Regions from separate parts of the Homo sapiens genome. Here regions 1, 2, 3, 4, 6 and 7 are each linked to region 5. Evidence: promoter capture Hi-C in 16 types of primary human blood cells and fetal thymus (Javierre and others, 2016). All regions are on one chromosome and are shown on one strand. The core of a region is centred on a gene start or on the middle of the fragment in contact, and the rest is flanking DNA. Distances in the headings are between cores, read along the strand shown.

The links. The method cuts DNA at HindIII sites, captures the fragments that hold promoters and counts their contacts. A CHiCAGO score of 5 or more calls a contact.
Region 1: a contact is called between a fragment that was not itself captured here and the fragment with the promoter of ELL2 in region 5, in 5 of 17 cell types (endothelial precursors, erythroblasts, M1 macrophages and 2 more). The highest score is 11.6, in endothelial precursors.
Region 2: a fragment that was not itself captured here is called in contact with the fragment with the promoter of ELL2 in region 5 in 1 of 17 cell types (total B cells); the score reaches 5.2 in total B cells.
Region 3: a contact is called between a fragment that was not itself captured here and the fragment with the promoter of ELL2 in region 5, in 6 of 17 cell types (M0 macrophages, M2 macrophages, M1 macrophages and 3 more). The highest score is 13.6, in M0 macrophages.
Region 4: a fragment that was not itself captured here is called in contact with the fragment with the promoter of ELL2 in region 5 in 5 of 17 cell types (M2 macrophages, endothelial precursors, M1 macrophages and 2 more); the score reaches 10.1 in M2 macrophages.
Region 6: a contact is called between a fragment that was not itself captured here and the fragment with the promoter of ELL2 in region 5, in 3 of 17 cell types (fetal thymus, naive B cells and non-activated CD4 T cells). The highest score is 6.4, in fetal thymus.
Region 7: a contact is called between a fragment that was not itself captured here and the fragment with the promoter of ELL2 in region 5, in 17 of 17 cell types (M2 macrophages, M1 macrophages, M0 macrophages and 14 more). The highest score is 31.5, in M2 macrophages.

Annotation. Positions count from the first base shown.
Region 1 is chr5:96,250,557-96,253,492 of GRCh38, forward strand. All of the region lies in intron 1 of LOC101929710 (a long non-coding RNA gene), which reads left to right. It also overlaps a transcript of CAST not described here. Among named protein-coding and RNA genes, the nearest start is that of MIR583, 170 kb to the left of the region's middle. The HindIII fragment of the contact is 1,596 bases long and covers 502-2,097 here.
Region 2 is chr5:96,442,252-96,444,951 of GRCh38, forward strand. The region is part of intron 4 of LOC101929710 (a long non-coding RNA gene); the gene reads left to right. It also overlaps a transcript of CAST not described here and the pseudogene LOC102724070. Among named protein-coding and RNA genes, the nearest start is that of PCSK1, 10 kb to the left of the region's middle. The HindIII fragment of the contact is 7,284 bases long and covers 1-2,700 here.
Region 3 is chr5:96,291,632-96,294,594 of GRCh38, forward strand. The region is part of intron 1 of LOC101929710 (a long non-coding RNA gene); the gene reads left to right. It also overlaps a transcript of CAST not described here. Among named protein-coding and RNA genes, the nearest start is that of PCSK1, 140 kb to the right of the region's middle. The HindIII fragment of the contact is 1,548 bases long and covers 527-2,074 here.
Region 4 is chr5:96,273,664-96,276,572 of GRCh38, forward strand. The region is part of intron 1 of LOC101929710 (a long non-coding RNA gene); the gene reads left to right. It also overlaps a transcript of CAST not described here. Among named protein-coding and RNA genes, the nearest start is that of PCSK1, 160 kb to the right of the region's middle. The HindIII fragment of the contact is 3,261 bases long and covers 1-2,908 here.
Region 5 is chr5:95,960,571-95,963,582 of GRCh38, forward strand. It overlaps ELL2 (elongation factor for RNA polymerase II 2), which reads right to left and starts at 1,281. Exons shown (of 12, transcript NM_012081.6): 1 at 1,005-1,281. The coding sequence starts at 1,151. LOC101929710 (a long non-coding RNA gene) reads left to right here and starts at 1,431. Exons shown (of 5, transcript NR_130776.1): 1 at 1,431-1,466. It also overlaps a transcript of CAST not described here. RefSeq lists silencers at 695-1,104, 1,175-1,414, 1,370-1,837 and an enhancer at 1,133-1,890. The HindIII fragment of the contact is 3,633 bases long and covers 1-2,527 here.
Region 6 is chr5:95,640,896-95,643,872 of GRCh38, forward strand. No RefSeq gene overlaps it. Among named protein-coding and RNA genes, the nearest start is that of RFESD, 4.4 kb to the right of the region's middle. The HindIII fragment of the contact is 1,327 bases long and covers 715-2,041 here.
Region 7 is chr5:96,340,471-96,343,469 of GRCh38, forward strand. All of the region lies in intron 3 of LOC101929710 (a long non-coding RNA gene), which reads left to right. All of the region lies in intron 1 of LOC107986365 (a long non-coding RNA gene), which reads left to right. It also overlaps a transcript of CAST not described here. Among named protein-coding and RNA genes, the nearest start is that of PCSK1, 91 kb to the right of the region's middle. The HindIII fragment of the contact is 2,031 bases long and covers 503-2,533 here.

The sequences.
Region 1 (2,936 bases), core at 50-2,549, 290 kb after region 5:
TTCTTGTTGGTCAGAATTGCATCACATGCTCAATCCTAATGTAAGGAAAGCAAGGAATTATAGTTTTTAAGCAAGGTTTTCTTGCTATTGTGAATAAAAGCAGGATTCTACTAATAAGCTGAAAGGGCAGACTAGATATAAGGTAGGCAACAGCAGTCTGCATCAGGATGTCCTCTTTAAATATCCCCTTTGGAAATGCGGCTTCTCTACTTTAGCAATAGTCTAGATAGAAGAAAACCCTGAAGAGTAGAATAGGACTACATCTGTCTCTGGAAAGTTGACTTCTAGAAAAAGATGCTGATTAATTAAAATATCAGAGAAAAGGTACAGAGAAGGTACAGGGAAGCCCTTACTTGGGCAAAGCTTGTTCGTTCAATTCATGTACAAGGTACAGAAAAGGTACAGAGGTACAAAGGTACAGAAGGTACAGAGGTACAGAGATACAAAGGTACGAAGGTACAAAGGTACAGAAAAGGTACAGAGAAGCCCTTACTTGGGCAAAGCTTTGTTCATCCAACTCATGTAAGCTCAGAGCCAATAATCTTAATATTTACCAAGGGTCCTTACCTGATAAAAGTTGAAAGCATCCTTTTTCCTGGACTGCTTTCTGTTCTGCACTGTAAATCTACAAATCTGCAAATGTAGTAGGTCCATAAACCAGCTTCGGCTGGGCTGATTTCTTCATAAGGATGTGATTTACTAAAATGCCTATCAGTTAAGTGGCATAGTTGTAACATTTTAGGAAGGTGTAAGTCCATGTATAAAGTTCTTTATTAAACATGTATTTAGTGCCATTGATATTTTAAGAAATTATTCAAGTGTAGTATAGAGTCTCGCTGGGAAGCATAGCACCTACAAGTTGATCTAACCACTTTGCTGTTAACTTTTCTTTCTGCCCCAAAGATCGCAGATTTCACTGGAAGGATGAGATTCCTCCCTCCCCTACATAGCTATTTAGGAATAACTATAAGTAAAACCAAAGAAAATGCATGCTTGATCTACAAGGAGTTGTGGAAATTTGCACCTGGTCTCTGAAAGTGAAAAGAGATGAGATAAGAAAAGTAATTGGTATATCACAGACATCAACTAATGTACACACTCTGGCCACAGAGAAGCCCAGACCTAGCTAGTTCAAGTATAGTTGATAGCCAGATGTCAGTGATAAAAGCAATCAAGGGCCTTGTTGACTAAGTCTTATGAGTACAGGTAATGTAATTAGTAACTGACTTTTCCCCAAAAATCCTAGAGAAGAAACTCTAGTGGTTGATTCTCAGGGCTCAATAGTTAACGAATGGTCTCAGCACTAAGAATGCTGACAATTAACATCACCTACAAGGCCAAATTAAAGACTATACTTTTTCTATTATTTCTCAATCTTTACGTTCAGTTAGAATTGAAATCCTGTAAACTCATCTATCTGGTTTCCCAAAGGCTTGTCTTTCTGAAATAGACAAGAATGAAATGTAAGGCCACACTCTAGGAATAGGTAGATGAGTGCAAATTGTGTCTGACCTCTCCATACTCTTATTTAACTCTGGCAGAATTTTATCTGACAGTCACTGGAGACTTCTATTCAGCAGTTTCTCCACTGGCCTAAAGGAAGAAGTGGCAAAAATATGATCCAAAATACAATTACTGATTTCCTAAAGGCAATGGTAATTTTGGTGATGGAAAGGAAAAAGCCTAAGAATGCATTTTTACTATTACCTCCTAGTCATTACACTATGTTTTCTGTGAATTTCAATTACTATTGTTTATTCATTCATTCGCTCATCTTTTTAATGAATAGTATTCATTCAGTTAGTACCTACTATATGCTTGGCACTGAGCTAAATTCTGAGTGTGCAAAAATCTATGAGAAGTTGTTTCTGCCCTCACAAAACTTACGACTAAATGACTATTGATTAACTTACCTTTGCATTGTTTTTTGAAGTTCTTCAAGTGCCCAGAATTTATACCAAAATCTCAAGGGAGTTAGAGTAGGTATTAACAGTCCTATTTTAAAACTGAGGAAATTGACGCTCACAGAGTTTAAGCAACCCGTTTGGATTGCACAGAAAGCTGTTAGCAAAAAGAGTTCAATGTCAATTCTTGATAAGCTTCACATTTTAATGAATGAATTATTTATATATGAAGTTGTATTATAACAACATTAGGTGAAGTCTATTTTTAACCTCTTTCAGTAATGATAATGTTCTGACCTAGATTTCTAAAATACAGGAAGTTCATCCCGGTTGATTCATGCATTGCAGATCTGAACTATTGATAAAATGGGATGAAGAGAAATAGCAAGTGAGTTTGTTGGTTCCTTCGTGGACTAAAATTTAGTGGTAACAGAATGACTGGAGTCTGACAGTTAAGGTTTAATTCCTATCATTTGCCAGCTGTTACGGACTTGGTAAACACATATGGGCTATTAAGAAGTGTGTATTTCAAAACATCAAGTCATATTTAAAGGATTATTTAAGAAAATGGGATCATATCTCCTGTGTTCTAAAGAGGCCAGATACTTTTTTAAAAAAATAACCAAAAGTAGAGACATTTTAGTCTTCTTTATTTTAAACTTTCTTTTCACACCATTTTCATTTTTCATCACAAAGTAGATTTTGTGGTGGTTGCTAGCTTTCTTTACATAGTCCATTGCAATGGAGTTTAATCTATCCAGGGCTAAAACCTGAAAATATGGATATAGTCAGGAAATGACTTGTATTTGTTTCTCTTCACAGGAGGGAGAGGGTGTCTGGATCAGTGGTTATCAAACTTGGCACAAACCTGGCACATACTAAGATCACCTGGGGAGCTTGCAAAATAGGCTATTCCAAAACCATAAAATCTCTGGGGGTGGGACCCAGGCGTTGGTATTGTTTTTGAAATATCCCTGGGTTATAACGAGCAGCCAAGGTTGAGACTTGCTAGAAATTTTCACTTCTGTTGGA
Region 2 (2,700 bases), core at 161-2,660, 480 kb after region 5:
CAGCTTCCTCATGAAACAGAGGAAATAATACTATTTATGAGATTTGAATGGACTAAATTATGTAAAGCACTGAGAACATTGCTTAGCCCATAGTAAGTACTCAATAAAATCTAGCTGTCATTATGATTGGTCTGTCTTCTGCCATTTTCTTTGCTTTGCATTGAAGAGAACTGTCCATGATTTTAGATTACACTCAGAAGCCCTATGTTTCTAGGTTTATGTTATCCTAAAATGTTATTACCATTTGTTGCTTTGGTAAGACTAGGAACTTGGAAACTACGTGAGTTAAATGGACAGTATCCCTGGCATTAATGCCCAACGTATTGTAGGACAATCATTTTCAGATGGTTTACTATGCATAATACTTACGTGGATTAAGTATCAAGGTAGTTTAAAGTGCAGCTTCCTAAGCATCGCTCCTCCCATTCTGATTCTGGAATGGCCTGAGGCCCAGGAATCTACAAACTTCTACAGGTACCCTTGGAGGTCGTAAGGAGCGCTGTGAAAAGCCTTAACTGGCATTGGCATTTACCCTACCACTGCTGCTGCTGTTGCTGCTGCTTCACTTTCTTTTTCTCCTCTTCTTCCTCCTGATCTACCTCCTGCTTCTTTTTCTCCACTTCCTCTTCTTCCTTCTTTATTATTGTCATCACCGTCATTCTCTTCATTCTCTTTGTCTTCCCCTCCATTTCTTCTCATTCTTTTCTTTTTTCTCCTTCTTCTTTTTGTAACCATTTCTAATAGACTACTGGAGGTTATTTTCCACTGTTAGGGTAGCTCTATTATTATCTCTTCAGAGAAAATGCCACTGAACTTGGGGGAAAAAAACAGAGTAATGACTCAATGAAAATATGTTTATACATAACTTCCCAGGAGCCAATTAGGAAGATAATCATTAGGTTCAGGTGATCCTTTGCTCATGCATACATCTGTAAGGCTCTGGCCCTCTCACCAAGAGTAAAATAGCCCATTCTTGTTTCCAGAGCTTATTAATGCTGGATTCAAATATAATGCCCTGAAAGTACATTTTAAAACCTTTCCTATGAAGATGCATAACTAGACGCAGGATCATTATTCTTACAATCCAATAAAATTTATGTATATCAATCTTTTGCTTCAAGCCAGCCAGGCACTCCAAGAACAATGTTAACAGTTTCTACATCCTGCCCCAACACCCAACCTATTACATCTAGATTCTGGGAACCTAGTCAAGAAAGCCACATGCCAATTTTGAAGCTACTTAAACTAATCAATTGTGATCACCAATTTGGATACTATATCTGTATAGCTTCAAAGAAAGTATATGTTTTGTAATCACCGAATTTAAAAAGTATAAATAGGCATTGAAGTAACTTTATCAGTGGTTATCGATTATTGCTGCACTTAGTATCTTGAAAACAACACTGATGCCCTGGCCCTAAGCCCACAGATTGTGATTTAATTGGTGTGGCATGGGTCACACCAGGTGATTCTATTGGGCATCATTGATATACATGAATCAAATTTATTTAACAATTGCCTACGCTCTATATCCTTCTGCAAGTCACGGACAGAGATTAACCCTAGAAGTAAAACGAAGCAGAGAATTTTAAGAATACTTTAGTCTCAACTACATGCATATTTTAGGGAAAGTGAAATATTAATCTAGCATTTCTTCTTAACTATCTCAATTCTCTATTTCATGTTGCTAGGGTATACTTGATCTTGTCAAAATTTTTCCAGCATCTAATAACACATAGAACCTCAAGGGCATTCCAAATGAATCACAGCAATATAAGAAATGAAGGAAAAAGCAAATTAAGTTTGGTCAACAATTTCTTTTGGTTGAATCAGAGGTGTCACAGAAGCAGCCACAGGGATTGAGAGTCCACCCCACCTTGCCCCTTATGGAGCTTGTAAAGACTAACTGGACTGACTCACATAAAGGGGCATTCTTTGCACTAGTCTGTGAGTCTAGGTTATGCCTTCACTTCTCATCAAAAATAGGGGCATTGAGATCATGACTTGCTAATAAGCCTCATGTAACAGATTTTTCACTGTATTGGTGATGGAAGTAAGACTCATTTAATTTAGTGTTTGAGAACTTGCTACCTGCCTTGATGTTCTGACACTTAAAGTTTTACTGTTTTCTATGTTTTGATGTTTAAAGAACTGTATAAATTGAATTATTCTCTCATTTTATCTCAAGCTGTACAATCTGCTGGTTTCTGTAATTTTAAATATCCTCTTTCCTTCAAATATTACCACCAAATCATTGTCTATAACAGATAAAAATTATTCTTTATCTTATTTACTTTTTTCTTTATGCCAAAATTTCTGAAAATTTTTTCTCAACTAGAATTATTTTCTCCATCATATTGTTAATTTCTAAAATATCAGTTTTATTTTATAAATGTTCCTTTTAATTTCTTCCTGTTCTTCTCTCATGGTTATAATATCTTCTCATGTCTGAGAATATTAATGCTAGGGGGTTTTATTTGTTTGCTTGTTTTGTTTTATTTATTTTTTTATTTTTTGCTTTTTTTCCTGCAAAAATAAGGTGACCACTATGGTGTTTTTTCCCCTATGGTTCAGTCCCTTTTCTCATGGTAAAGACATTCCTCCAATTTCCAGTTATCCATGTTGCTAGATCACAGTTGAGAGCGAGAAAAGAAAATCCGTAATCATTTAAATGGGAACTGGCAACTGTGAGTTTTGCTG
Region 3 (2,963 bases), core at 51-2,550, 330 kb after region 5:
AGGTGAATGGGGCTCAGGAAAATTGTTGCTATTTTTGTGCCAAGCTCTGGGGAGAGGGGAGCATGGAAGACTTAGCTTTCTATAGTTTCTTCTGCTTAGGCTTATCACAGTTATGCTTTCTCTCCAGGAGTCATAGACCCATAGGATCCTCCCTGTAAGATCTTCCAAAGTCTCTGCTATTATGATCAATAGAAGACTGATTCCCAGTCTGCGTGTGTGTGTGTGTGTGTGTGTGTGTGTGTGTGTGTGTGTGTGGTGGGGAAGGTGTGCCGATGACAGATACAGAATCTTTCTTTCCTGTTTCTTCCAAATATTTTGTCTCTACTCTGGCTATTTTCTACTTAAGTTCTTAGGCATTTGAAAGCCAAACCTAGAACAATTCAGACTTTTGTGCTTTCTGCCTTTTTTCACCCTTCTCCTTAGGATTACTCTCTGTTTGAATGAGAAGGAAAGAGGCAAACACTGGAAGAAAAAAGACGCATATGTTAATATCTCAAAGATGATATCACTACAAACAGAGGCTTCAAGCTTTACCCTGATTTTGTCCTAAAATTATATGTGAATAGATGCTATCCAAAGGTCAGAGTAGGCATCAAGAATGAAATTTAAACAGAGCTTCGAGACTTCTGTAGATCCTAGGTATTTTGGAAAACCCGTAACATCCATCCTTAGGACTCCGTTTCCAATAAGAGCTTCTCAGTTGTATAACGTAAATATGTTTTAATGTCATAATAACTACTGAATTGTTTTAAACCTTTCACAAATGTAGACAAATTAGTTCTCAACGTTATCTGTTGAATGCACAGGCCACTGGTCTTATCACCTGGAGAGTTGTTAAAATTGCTGGTGCCCAAGCTCTACCCCCAACAAGCCCAATTCAGACTGAATTGCCTCTGTTTTATCTAAGGTTGTGACTTTGAGATTATTCCTTAAGACTTATTCACCTACTAAATAATGGGTTAATGTTCTCACAAGGTGATTATGTTGATTTTGGAATTAATACTAAAGTTAGGAGAATGGGATGATTATTAACTGGGAGAATTTTGTCTTTTAGTAGCTCATACAGTGCTAAATAATTTACAAAGTTCTATCAGATAATGAGACTGACGCGCTGCCCACTGCGTCACAAGGATGACCCAAACACTGTCACAGAATTAGAGTCAACACAGAGGAAGTGGAGTGAAGGGATAGGGAGCGACACTTAATTCTGATGACAGCAGCTATTCACTTAAAGCCTGTATACATGAAACAATAAATTCCCTTTTTGATTAAGCCAGCTGGAGTTTGGTTTTCTGACGTCTTCATTAAAGAGTCCCGACTGATATAGTTCTCCACAAATAGTTGTTGAATAAATGTTTGAATGGAAAATCAAAGTACGAATAGGGGTGGAGGAGTGCAAACAGCAGCCAACTCCTCCTAATATTCTTCTCTGGCCGGGATTCAACCCTGTCATGTTGCACAATTCCAGTGGCCTCCATTCACATGATCTAGAATATGAATGGTGCCAGCTCCTCCCCCAGAGGTGTACAAGGCAGCCCTGAGGGGAGGTTAGGGTGGAATGGCAGAAAATCTGTGGTTCTTAGTTCTTGAGCCTTTAGATCATGGAGTCCCATTTCCCAGAAGCAGAAAGGCTGGTCTCTAGATTTTGTTTGTTTGTTTGTTTTGAGACAGAGTTTCACTCTTTTTGCCCAGACTGGAGTGCAGTGGCACGATCTCAGCTCACTGCAACCTCCACCTTCCGTTTCAAGTGATTCTCCTGTCTCAGCCTCCCGAGTAGCTGGGATTACAGGCACCCACCACCACGCCCCGGCTAATTTTTGTATTTTTAGTAGAGATGGGCTTTACCATGTTTGTCAGGCTGGTCTTGAACTCCTGACCTTGTGATCTGCCTGCCTCAGCCTTCCAAAGTGCTGGGATTACAGGCATGAGCCACCGCGCCTGGCCTCTAGATTCTTTTGTGTTGTGAGTTCATTAATCTTTAGGGGTTCCTCTTTCTTCTCCTTCCAGAGAACTCTAGAAGCACTCAATTTGACTATACTAAGATAGTATTTAGAATATGTGTATTGTTTATAAAAGCTTAGGCCTCATCGTCATATAGTGATGCATAATATAAGTAAATGCCAGATTATTATTATTATTATTTTGAGACACAGTCTTGCTCTGTCGTCCAGGCTGGTGTGCAGTAGCCCAATCTCAGCTCACTGCAACCTCTGCCTCCTGGGTTTTAAGCAATTCTCTCTGCCTCAGCCTCCCGAGTAGCTGGGATTACAGGCACCCAACACCACGCCTGGCTAATTTTTGTATTTTTAGTAGAGATGGGGTTTCACCATGTTGGCCAGGCTGGTCTTGAACTCCTGACCTCAGGTGATCCACCAGCCTCAGTCTCCCAAAGTGCTGGGATTACAGGCATGAGCCACTGTGCCTGGCCCTGAATTATTTTTATTGTAAGTTTCATTCTATTCAAATATTTATTTTACTGAGTCAACTCATTTTTGACTCAATGTATTGCTATGTAAAATGTTCAACTAGCTAACAACTTAAAAAAATTAGATCATGTGCTATCTCTATGCATTGACTTGGGCTGTCTTTTCCTCTGCCTTTGTGTTTATTTCATTCCTATATATAACTCTTTTGGACTTAGAGTCACAATGGTTTGAAGAAAATATGTGGAAGAAAACTGACCTGTTGTTTTTATTTTTAAATTTGCAGTATGCTTCTTCAATGTAGCTCACCTCAGGGAGCATTTTAGAAGTCTTTTCCTGGAATCCTATGAACCCTATGGCATAGAGTTTTATAAATGACTGTTTTGGTTTGACTAGCATGGGTCCACCTGAACCAGTTCTCACTGTAATGTCCAGGAAGTTGATTTGCTTTTCTCTGTCTACACAGAAGAAACACATGTTGTGTAGAAAAGAAATTGCCAGTCTCTGAACATTTCCCTTTGCAGTGTCTGATATAGAAAT
Region 4 (2,909 bases), core at 28-2,527, 310 kb after region 5:
TAGATATTTTTGTATGCAGAGAATATTTTAATGAAAATATCTAATTCAGGAACAGTTTTCTCAAAGCTGGAATTTCTTTACACTCTTTCATTTACTGGACAAGAGTAAACACAATGTAGATATCTCTTCACTGGTCTGTTCTGATTGCTCGAGTATCTCCTGGACTGGCCTTAGCAGTAAATAGATCAGTGAAGTACTGACAGGGCACCGAGGCTTGATCATATACCAACACATCCCTGTGCCTGTCATTCCTTAGAGCTTTAAAGGCTTTGCCGTTTTGGAGTTGCCTTTTAAAAATGCATATTCACCTGGGAGAGGACACACCTGAAATTTTTATTATTTGACATCTTAGCAAGAACTTGCCAAAAATAGACCCTGCTTGGGAAAAGGGAGATGGAAGGGATGGTGTGAGAGAAGAAATGAGTTAGAGCCCCAATTTTTTTTTTTTTTCTTTTTGAGACAGAGTCTTACTCTGACGCCTAGGTTGGAGTGCAGTGGCGTGATCTTGGCTCATTGCAAGCTCCGCCTCCCGGGTTCGTGCCATTCTCCTGCCTCAGCCTCCTGAGTAGCTGGGACTACAGGCGCCCACCACCATGCCTGGCTAATTTTTTGTATTTTTTAGTAGATACGGGGTTTCACTGTGTTAGCCAGGATGGTCTCAATCTCCTGACCTTGTAATCTGCCCACCCCGGCCTCCCAAAGTGCTGGGATTACAGGCACGAGCCACAGCTCCCAGCCTAGAGCCCCAATTTTATAGTCCAGTGTCAATTCTGTCCAAAATTTTACCAAAACCATGACTCCTGAAAGGTATGCATATATTTACTCCTTATTCTAAGAGCATCATAAATTTGAGGATGAAATGTATTTTGGAACAGACTTCAATAAATGTGTTCAATTCCAGTTTGTGTCACTATTAAAGTTGCCCTTAGGCCTCAAATAGATTTTGTGTGCGTGTCTACATTTTCACCCATTACATCCCAGAGATGACGGGTGCAACAATGAGAAGAGAGGAAGATAACTGATTAATTATTCTCTTTGTCGCTAGCCTATGCTTATTCTTCTGGTTGGTCAAACCGCTAGGCTCCCCTCTGACACTAAACAGCTCATGTTTCAAGAATATTTAAGAAAATTGTACAACTTTCTTTTTCATTCTGTCGTGGAAATGCCTGGCTCTAATGTTCTGGAGAAACTTGACACAAATAATAAACAAAAAAGAAGGGTCTACAGAAAAGATCACCTGATAAACCTCCAGATCTGCTTGCCTATGCCCTCTTCTCCTTCCAATCTGGAAATGCCTGAATTATACCTTCGTGGGCAGTGAACAATTTATACTTTGAGGAAGGGGAGATGAGGATCTGTTTGATATTTGCTGAAGTTAGTCAATTAACACGTTGAGGTGGTAGCAGATGCTATTCCCTGGAAGACATATTGACCTTTGATTTTTAAAGAAACCAGCCTTTAAAGTTTCAGATAATTGTGTCTGAGATAATTCACAGCTAGTCTGGGGCTCTTGCTTGTTTCGTTGACAGTAAGCCGTATTTGAACTCATCCCCAGATGTACAAAGTCTATTCATTGACTCAATAAGTCACTAATTTTCTTTAAAGTTTCATTAAAAGCAGAGACATTACTAAAGAGCTTGTATTAGTCACAATTTGATCAAGGTTCAGTTAGATATTTGAGGCAAGAATTGATAATATAACCAATGATGTCAAAAAAGGGAGGCTAATACAGCTATGTATTCTTCAATGTTCAGGTCCAACAGAAATTGAAAAATGTGACAGAGTTGTTGGAATGTCATCCAGTTGGCTGCTGTAACATGCTGTAGAAAGGATGGATATTAAATTATTGAAGATAATATGATAGTTTGTGTAAGCTCTCATGTTTTCCCTGTCTCCACCTCCTTTCCCTGTCCTCATATCTGCTATACCATTCTCTGCTCTCACCCCTTTCTTGTAAATAGCACATCTGCTCAAGATATAGAGTTTATTTTGAAGGACACAGGTAATTCAAAAGCTATTTATGTTCAGATATTACTTACCTAATTTACATAGCCCAGCAACAATCAAATACTAGCATGGCAGAATCTAAAATAGTTTGGTCCAGCTTATTAAGTTGTTATGATGCACATTACAGGCTCATTTGCTGTAATTAATTAGTGGAGAGAGGATAGAGCCTCCGCCTTAATTGCTTCTATCTAACAAATGTTTTCGAGGAGATTTCATTTATTGAGAAGAGCACAACTGAGAAGAATACCCGTGTTAAAAGCTCCTGTTGCTCTTCCTTCACTTTACATCCTTTTTCCAAAAGCTATTATTTAAAATACAAATTTTAATCTCTAAGTAGAAGCATATATTGTGATTCTTAGCCAGTGGTCTTCTTCGTGAAACTGATGTTTCCTAACCCACCATGTTTACATGCAGTGTTTTTCTCCCAGTGGTTGCTGGTAGATCTTTGTGCTTTAACTCTCAAATCCTTAGAGTGTTTCAACGATAGATTTGGGAGGAATGATAGGGCCTGATTTTCTCCCTCTCCTTGTCAAGCCACCAGCGCAGAATAAGATGACAAGAATAATTTTGCAGAGTCAAAATAGCCATATAAAAACCCATAGTAAAAATGTACAATATGTTGATATTGGGCCTCTGAACTAGCATTATTATATTTTATGGATATTCATATTTTACATGTCAACATACAAACAGCAATAAGTCTTTAAACTTTTTTAAAGCTCTTAATGGTTTCCAACGTGGCTTTTTACATATGTTATTTTATTTGGTCATCTTTCAAACACTGAAGCAGGCTGGGGCAAAATGTTATTACCTTTCACTTACAAAGAAAAGAACTGAGATTGAAGATGGTAAAAAAATGTGTTCTAGAGGACATAACTGTCTGTAGCAGAGATCAGAAACAA
Region 5 (3,012 bases), core at 31-2,530:
AGGCCCGAGTCTCTGCCCGGGATGCATTGTATCCTCCCCACACCTTCTGGCTCTGGCTCGTTCCCCGTTTACACTTCCCAGAGTCAGCCCAAGACGCCGGGAGCTTTTTCGGGTACGTTGAGCGTCCGTGAACCTCTCTCTCCAGAACCCGATGTCTTGCTCCCGGGGAGCGCTAAGTGTGCGTGAGTCCTCAGGTCTCTCCCCAGGGCACTGTGTTGGTTTGTGTCCGTCCTGGACGCGGCGCGTCTCCAGTAACGCGATGCGCCGGTGTCCCGGAGTCCCTGGGAATGCAGGTGTGTCCCCTCCCCCCCCGTACGCGAAGCGCCAGTGTCCCCGCCGTTCCAGTGTGCGCCGCCCCCTTACACGGACTGCCTAAGTCCCTATCTCTATGAGTACACCGTGTGCCCCTCACCATGCGCCCGAGTCCCCATCCCTTCGAGCACACAGTGTGTCCCCTGATACGTGGAGCGCCTGTGTCCCCAAGTCCCTGGGAATACAAGGTCCCACCCCCACACGCGGAGCGCCTGTGTCCTGTCTCTGAGGATCCACCGTGCCTATGTAACTGGAAAACGCGGGCAGCTGGTGCCCGCGAGTCGTCCCTGGTTCCTTGCCCATACGCTGCTCGCTACCCTCCTTCCCCGCCGAGGGTAGCGTGGTCATCTCACTTCTCTTATCGGGGCCTCTCTCCCTCCTTGGGACCCAACAAGCCAGGAAATCCTCGGGGGCCGTCGGAAAGTCCCGCAGCGGCAGCGCAGCCGACCCAGGGCTGCGGCTGCCTCGGCCCCGCCGCCAGGGGCCGCCCGACTGCCCGCTTCCCCAACGCCCAGGCTAGCCCGGGACCGCGGCGTCAGCCACCCTGCCCGGCCCTGCCCTGCCTGGCCGCTGCGGGCGCTGACGGTAGCAGCTGCCAGCCACGGCTCCGCCGGCCCCGCACCCGGGCGCGGCCAGGCCGTGAGGGGTGCGCTCTGCCTCTCTGAGCCCAGCCTGCCGGCCGGCCCGCTCACCTTGTGGCTCTGGTAAGTCTCGAGCGCCCGGATCGCCGTCTCGGTGAGCTTCACATGCAGTACGGTGATGTTGTCCTGCCCCAGCCGTCCGCACGACAGCCCATAGCGCTGCTCCTCCCGCAGGCCCCCTGTCCCCCCCGCCGCCATCTTAAACTCCCCGGGGTGCCGCCGCCGCCGCCGCTCCGGCTCTAGCCTCCACTGCGGCCGCGGCTGCTTGGGCTTCTGCAGCCGCCGCCACTGCTAGGGCCATCCCGCTGCTGACGTACTGTCATATACTGCGCGGAGCCAGACCTCGGACTGCCACCGCCGCCACCCGCCCCACCCTCCGGCCCCGCGCCCCGCCCCGGGCTCGTCTCATTGGTCTTGTTCCCTTCAGAACCGCCCTCATCGGCCGCCCTCCACTCTCACGGGGGCGGGCCCAAAGTCACTAGAGTTTTGCTCCTGGGACGGGACGTCCGAGAGGTAAGAGGCTGACGTCTAGGTGACGCGCCAACTTAATCATGTCTGACGTCACGTCTGGTCGTCTTGGCTAGCCGGCCGAGATTGGCCAGGCTGGCTTGGGGACTCCCCTGCTAATTGGAAGTCCAGGTTGCCTGGTCTGGTTACCTGGAGTTGGAGCCCCGCCCCTGTGGGGGATAGTAGTGAAAAGTCAGAATTGGGGAATCTCGCCCTACGCGGGTGGTCCTTGGAGAGGAGGATCTCCACCTCCACTATGTAAGGGGATGGCCGTGACCAAATAAGGACTTTGTTCCCCGACGGCTGCGGAAGCTGTGGAACTTGGTGCGTGCGTGTGGGGGAGGACGCAGCAGGAGGACTCGCTAGAGAGCTGCTCCTCAAAACTCCTAGTACTGTAGTTGAGCAAACGGCATTGGGAGGAAACTGCTCACTCTAAACTTGAAGTTATCGGGTGCCACACGCAGAGCTTATAAAAACAAAAACAAAAACAAAAACCCTTGAAATTAGTGAGTCGACTCTTAGATGTAGGAGTTGTGTTAGATCTTGTGGAGCATCTTAAGGACAAAATCACGCGGGAGGTTAAATGCCTTTCGTATGGTGGGCATGGTATAATAGAGAATTGAGCTTCGAGGTCTTTCCTACGCCATGCCCTGTTGTGATTCTCTGGGATCACAACTGGTGGGGATGATATCTCCTTAAAAAGGACTCTAGAAGAAGAGTAAAACTGGCATTGATCTAAATTAAAAGAAACCTCGACAATTCTCATTCTCTAATTCAGTTTGAGTATTGTCCTTTTTATTTGATAGGGCTGTGTGAAAACCTAGCTAGGGTTTAAAGGTAAGAGGCTGTCGAGGTTAAGCGAAGGAGATGGGGGCGTGAGGGGCGTGCAAAGGCCTGGCATACTTTCCATTCCATCCACAGGATGCTTCCTGTGTAGGCGTGGCTAAAAGAGGGAGCCTAATCTGGAGTCCCTTTCAGATTGTGTGTGGATAGACTGACAGATGGGTTCCTGTCAGAGGATGGATTAATTGGTTGATCAGAAACACCAGATAAAACAAACCATTGAAAGCTTTCAAACTGTTGAAAGGCAGTTTAAAAAAGTTCTTTTAATAAAAAAACTGAGACGCTTGTTTTTACCCTCAGCTTATAAAACCATGTTCTGTTCTACTGGGATTCCCCGGGAAAGTTTATAGATATTTAATCAGTATTTTTCATTATTTTAAATGGATTAGGGCCATGATTCCATGTCCTCCCCTCCCAATAAATGCCTTCCCCACCGTACGGGTACACTCCTTTTTGATTCAGACCTTCAAACATAGTAGGTGTATAATGTGAATTACAGAATGAATTGGATTAAGTGGAAACACCTGTATTAAGTGTTACTCCATCACAGGAAAACAGTTTGTAAATTGACTTAATTTCAATCCACTAAGATTGGCTAGCTGTTAAGACGTGATTAACGCTTGCTAATTTCATTTACTTTAGTGATACAGTGTTATCTTAAATTCATGTAGTAGAGATATTAAGGTAATCATCAAATTGGATTAAAAAG
Region 6 (2,977 bases), core at 128-2,627, 320 kb before region 5:
AAGACACACATGCTGGCTAGGGGGATGAGAAGGAGGAGTGACCAAGGTGGCTCACAGAGGAGTGTCAGAGCCCTAGTGGGATAGATGGCAACATGGTGTAGTGACATAGCACGGCCAGCTCAAGCCCAGTGGGAAGGGAATCAAGGGGCAGCCTACAGAGGCTCAAAGTCCAGTCTCTGTGATGTGCCTTCATTACCTGAATCTAATCAGGAGGAAACATCAGATGAACTCAAACTGAGGGATATTCTACAAAATGAATGGCCTGTAATCTTCAAAAATGCAAATATCATAAATGTTAAAGAAAGACTAAGGAGATATCTCAGACTGAAGAAAGCTAGAGACATGAAAACTAAACATACAATCTTGATTCTGAACTGAATTTGAGGATTAGATGGTAGTGTGTCAGTGTTAACTTCCTGATTTGGATGGTTGTATTGTGGTTATGTAGAAGAATGTCCAGATTTGGAGAAAATACATACTAAAGCATTAGGGACTGACGGGGCATCAGATTGGTACTATACTCTCAAATGGGCGTTTGGGAATAGAGTTTCCCTGTATTTTTCTGTATTTTTGTGTTTGTTACCAAATTATATATAATTATATATGTGAGGGGTAGGGGTGAGAGGGCGAGAGCATATGACCATGTGAACACATTACTAGTGTCCCTCAGGACCTCAGGATCTTGGAAGGCCCCATGCAAATATGGGAACCTGAAGCTTCAGTTTCATCAATATCACTACCTCTAACTGCAGCAAACCTGACTCTACCCACTACTGTCTGAAAGGCCAAAGTCCTTAAAGACATAATTTAGACCTTGTCTTAGTTATACCTGCTTTCTTAGGTCTTTGTGGCCTCCCTATCTCTGCTAACACTCAGTGTAGCAGAATGAATATGTTCTGAATGTTGTTGAAGGTCAAGGAGCAGCAGCTTGCACCCGAGGCCCACGTCACCTAAAGCTCTCTGGGGTTTGCCTTTGCTGGGCCCACATAGCTCTGTTGTGTGTATTTGCTAAGCCTGGCTTGGTACAAATGGCCAGTGTTTTGCTTCAGGCTCAATGTAGGTTCGGTGGTATTTGCTGATCAGACTCTCTTCTCCACACCCCCACTTACGTCAGCTGTGTATCATTTGCTTAATGCTCAGGACTTGGAGTCCCACCAGGAAGATAAAAATCAGCAGTGAACAAGAAGTGTTTCAGCTAGTCAAATCTCCAACCTTCACTCACTTCTCCTGGTATGCTCAGCTTAGCTCCTTTCTTCTTTCTACAGATTTGTGTACCTGTAGAGAGGGTACAATCTAGTCTGTCCGCTAGAGAGGACAGTTTTAAGAGAGTTTTGATACATAAGTTTAATTCAGGAGGCTGTTAGTCCCTTTGGCTGCATGTTTAAGCCACCCCAATTGAGACGTTCATAATTAAATAAAGCTCACACCTTGATCTCTTTCTGTGTCTCTCAACTGGTTCCAAACTCAGGCAGAAAATAAAAGAAAGGTGTTATTGGGCCCTCTCAAAGTCCAACACAAATAAAAGATGATGGTACCTTCAGGGTGGTGATAGCAGATAAGGTAAGAAGCGGTGTGATTTCAGATAAATTTTAGGAAGAATTGGCAGGACTCAGTGCTGGATTAGATATGGGGGGATATCAAGGGTCCCTAAGACCCCCTTCACATTTGGAGATTCACTAGATTCTGGGACTCATTACAGTTACGCTATTACAGAAACGTAGTAAGGATACACAGCTGGATTGTAAAGAAAAAGACTCAGGCAGAGCATGGAAGACTTCGTGTGCAGGATTCCTAAGTGTTCTCCCTTTCGCGAGGGGTCACACAGACTGCATTCTTCCTCCAGAAATGAAAATGTAGAAACATGCCTGCAATGTTTTTGCCAGGGAAAGACTGAGCCTCAGCAGCCAGAGTTTTTACTGGACATTGGTCACAGGCACCTCTGCCTAGCAGGTACCAAGTTCTAGAATCTCAGAAGGAAAAGCAAGTGCATTGTTTGTACAAATAGCTTACGCACAGGGAATCACTTTTATTATTTAGGGAAAGCTTTGTATGTGTAGGTGTAGGTGTCGGATAAACTCACCTGATAGTAATAATTTATGCATACCCTCAGAATGACCCCATATGGCAGATGCACCTGAATGTATGTTCTGAGCTAGGGAATCTGGGAGTAGCTAACCTGAAGAGTCATTCTTTATCTATGAGAAACATCTAATATAGGGGACTGAGGCCCTGAATTTTGGGATACATGAAGGTTGCCAGGTGGAGATTGTTAGGGGGAGGGTATAAAGTGAAAATACCATATAAACTGCATGATGGTTGCAGGCGGTTGCAGTTTTCCTGCCCATCCCACCACCACTGGACTCTGTAAGCACCTAATAAAACACCATGTTTTGTTTGCTGGCTCTAGGTCTCTTCTTCGGCCTCTTGAACCTGGTTCCTTTCCTACTGAGGTTAATAGGGCTTTGGCACGACAGTAAGGGACTGTTTACCTGCCAAGTTCTCACATGTCAGCGAAGGGCCAACCTTACAAGCAGACCTTTTTAAGGATAGCAGTCTCAGGTCAGCTATGCGAACTCCTTTCTCTACAGACGGGCAGGAAGGGGTGCGACAAGGAAAAGGGAAGAGTCAAGGAAGACATGCAGATTTCTCCCTTAAGCCTGAAGATGGACAGTGTTGTCACTTATAGAGATGGAGAAGACAAAGAAATGCAGATTTATGGGAGAGAACTAGTATTTCGATTTTGAACACAATGAAATTAGAGATAGCTATGAATTATCAGGTTAAACTATTGTATGTTATAATAAAAAACAACCTTAAAATTCCAGGGGCCTTAACATAATAAAAATTTATTTCTCACTTAAGTTATGTGACTTTCACGGCCTAGTGGAAGTTAGGAAATTGGTGGGGAGATGTAGTCTCTGTTCTGCATAGTCACTCAGGGACCCAGGCTGGTGGAGGCTCCACCATCCAGAATGTT
Region 7 (2,999 bases), core at 268-2,767, 380 kb after region 5:
GGCTTTGAATCTTTGGAACTGTGGGTTTTTAGTAAGGATTGAATCAGCTTGTTGGCTCCTAATAGACTCTGAAATCCAGTAATATTCGTGATGTGTTTGTTCACTCCGTTGACTGCCAGGTCCCGGTAGGAGCAATGGCCAACAGAGAAGAATCGAGGTAAATCCTCCTTTGTTGCCTAAGAGCTGTTGTTGTTTACCCCAGTTTATAACCTCTTCACACTGAAGCATCACCCTTCAAAGGAGGATGTTGCTTCCCACTTTGATTATCATTTACTTGACTTTACAAGAAACTTTCACATCTTCCAAAACAGTAAGCTGTAAGATTTGCTCCAAGCTCTACGCAGTATATACTATGACTATTTTCCATTTAGAAATTAACTTACATTACAGCTGTAAGTCTATATACTGAACTTATGATGCTCGTTACTAAATGAATGATAATGGACATGAAATAGTCTGTAATTCATAGTCAAAATCTACCATTGCTATGTTTGTCTAAGGAAGCTTCAGTGAGTATACTTCAGATGCATATGAAGTTAGAAAAACAGTTAACAGAAATAGTTCAGTAGAGAAATCCTGATCCTAGGACTAATAAAACTAGATTTTCTTAAATCCAAATGCCTGTGAGATTCTATGCAGAAGGATAATTTGTATCCAGCATGTAAATAATCATGATTCTCAGAAGGAATTATTTGCACTTTAATTGCTCTTAGTAATGGAGAGTTGTGTCTTCTTATTTGTCCCCTTGTCATTAGAAAGTATCACTTACCATACATTTAATTCAAGTTTTCATCTTAAAAAATGTTACTCTAGAAATCTTGATCACAATCTCCTTTCATTCCTGCCCACTCCCATCCCCCCACCCTCCACCCCACCCCTCCACCCTGCTTGGTTTTGGTTTGTTGTTTTGTTTTTTACAAATCAGTGTATAACTCACTAAGGCTCAAGATACTATGTTTGAAACCTGAAAGCCAGCCTGAAGGTCAAATTCGAAATAACAATTTTCTTTTTGAATTTGAAGTCTCATTAGTGTAAGTGCCAGGATAACAACCCACAGTCTTCTTAATATAGTGGTTCCCATTTACATACTGTATCCTTAAACCACCTCTATTATCCCTTTCTGGGTGTTTTTCTTTCAAATGGTGCTTGTTTTACTTAAATAAACTTTCTTTAGATTAAACTTTCAGATAATGACTTCAAGTGGAAAACCAGTATCCTCTGTCATAATAAATGATATCCAGGAAGAGAAGTAATGGTAAAAACAATAAAATATTATTGAATTCTAGCTAGGAACATGAACCTACCACGGCACTGAGCCTAAATCTTTTTCTCCTTATGTTAAGTGTTAAAGATATGTTGAATACACTAAATGGAGACTTTCTCTAGACAGTATGATGAGTACAGGGAAGTTGAAAAGAACTTTCTCACAATATGATTTCGTGGATTTAATAGCTTCTCCCAACCAAAAATTACCTTTACCTTAGAAAAAAATTCCTTGATAAAATCAACTCAAATCCCCTAAGTTTAACAAGTGATGGTGGTAATGTACAGTCCTCAATGTGAGACCAAACTGAATCCAAGGCTGTATTCCCCAAGATTCTTCTTCCTCACTAATTCTCACTAATATAGAGTGGCTGCCGCCACCACCACCATGATGCCCTCCAGGTGTGCCCTCCTGGACATTCTGGCTCAAGCAAACACAGGCCTCCTTCCTTAATTCCTCTGAGGACACATGGGAAGAGCCTGGAAGTTTAAATATGACTTCATAGACAAATAGGATAATAAAAAGGAAATAAACAGAAAAACTTAACTCATCTGCTTTTTCATTGTTGGTTGGGGGTGTTTTTGAGGCAGTGGTTCCCCAACTTTTAGCACATATGGAAACCAGCTGGGGATTGTTAAAACAGAGTGCTGGGCCCACCCCCATATTTTCCAATGCAGCGGGGCTGGATTGGGGCCTGAGAATTTACATTTTGAACAAGTGCTCAGGTGAGGCTGGGGCTGCTGATCTGGAAGCCACTCTTGGAGAACCACTGTCCTTAGAAGACGCATTGCTGCCTGGCTTCTGCCTACCTGCCTTTAAGCCAGGTCCATATTTCAGGTCTATTTGGAGACTTGTCAAAGGACAGACCCTAATTATAAAATGGAAAGGCAGCTAGTCCCATACATAAGATTGAATTGAATTCTCTTTTTCTTGCAAGCTAGCATAGATTGGTTCTTCCCTCATAGCTAGCCGTATGACTCCTTCTCATTGAGATCACCCAGCCATATCTCCTCAATTCTTTATTTCCCACATTTGCACATCTCTGAAAATGGGATGTGTTTCACAATCATGCCACAAACGCCCTGAGCCTACGGGAATCCTGTTGTACTTGTTCATAGTATCATTGCTTCACTGAGTTATGTGCATTTTTGGTACCGCATAAGTTGATTCCATTGCCATTTAAAATGTCTTTAAAATTATGATACTGTAATTGAGCATTGAGACAAAAAGTTATTGTGTATGAAGAAAGGTGTGGGAATAGGGCAATGAAGCTTACATTTGGTATTGAAGGAAATATTTTGTTTCTAGAAGAATGATCACAATTTCATATTTTTAAAAAGAGCTATTAACAGTTTTATTTTAAAATAGCAACATGTACAATGCACTCATACATAGTTTGCAATTGTTAAAATGATGATGAAAATCTTTAACCTCACTAAAAAAAAACACATTTACAGATTTTAAAAATTCTTTTAGGGGGTACACAAGATAAAAATTTAAAGACCTCAGCTGTAGATTGCAATTTTCCAAATGGATCTCACAATACTGGCACCTAGCCAAAATAAATTCTTTAACCAAAGATAGGAAAATGAGAAAGTAGGACAACTTATTGATTTTTTAATAAAATGATGTTAAATGTTTTCAGTTTAAAGTTCTGTTCTATTTTCTGAAATTAAGGTGCTTGCTACCTTTTTAGGGGGTTGAGAGGAGTTTAGTTTGAAAATAATGATGTTAA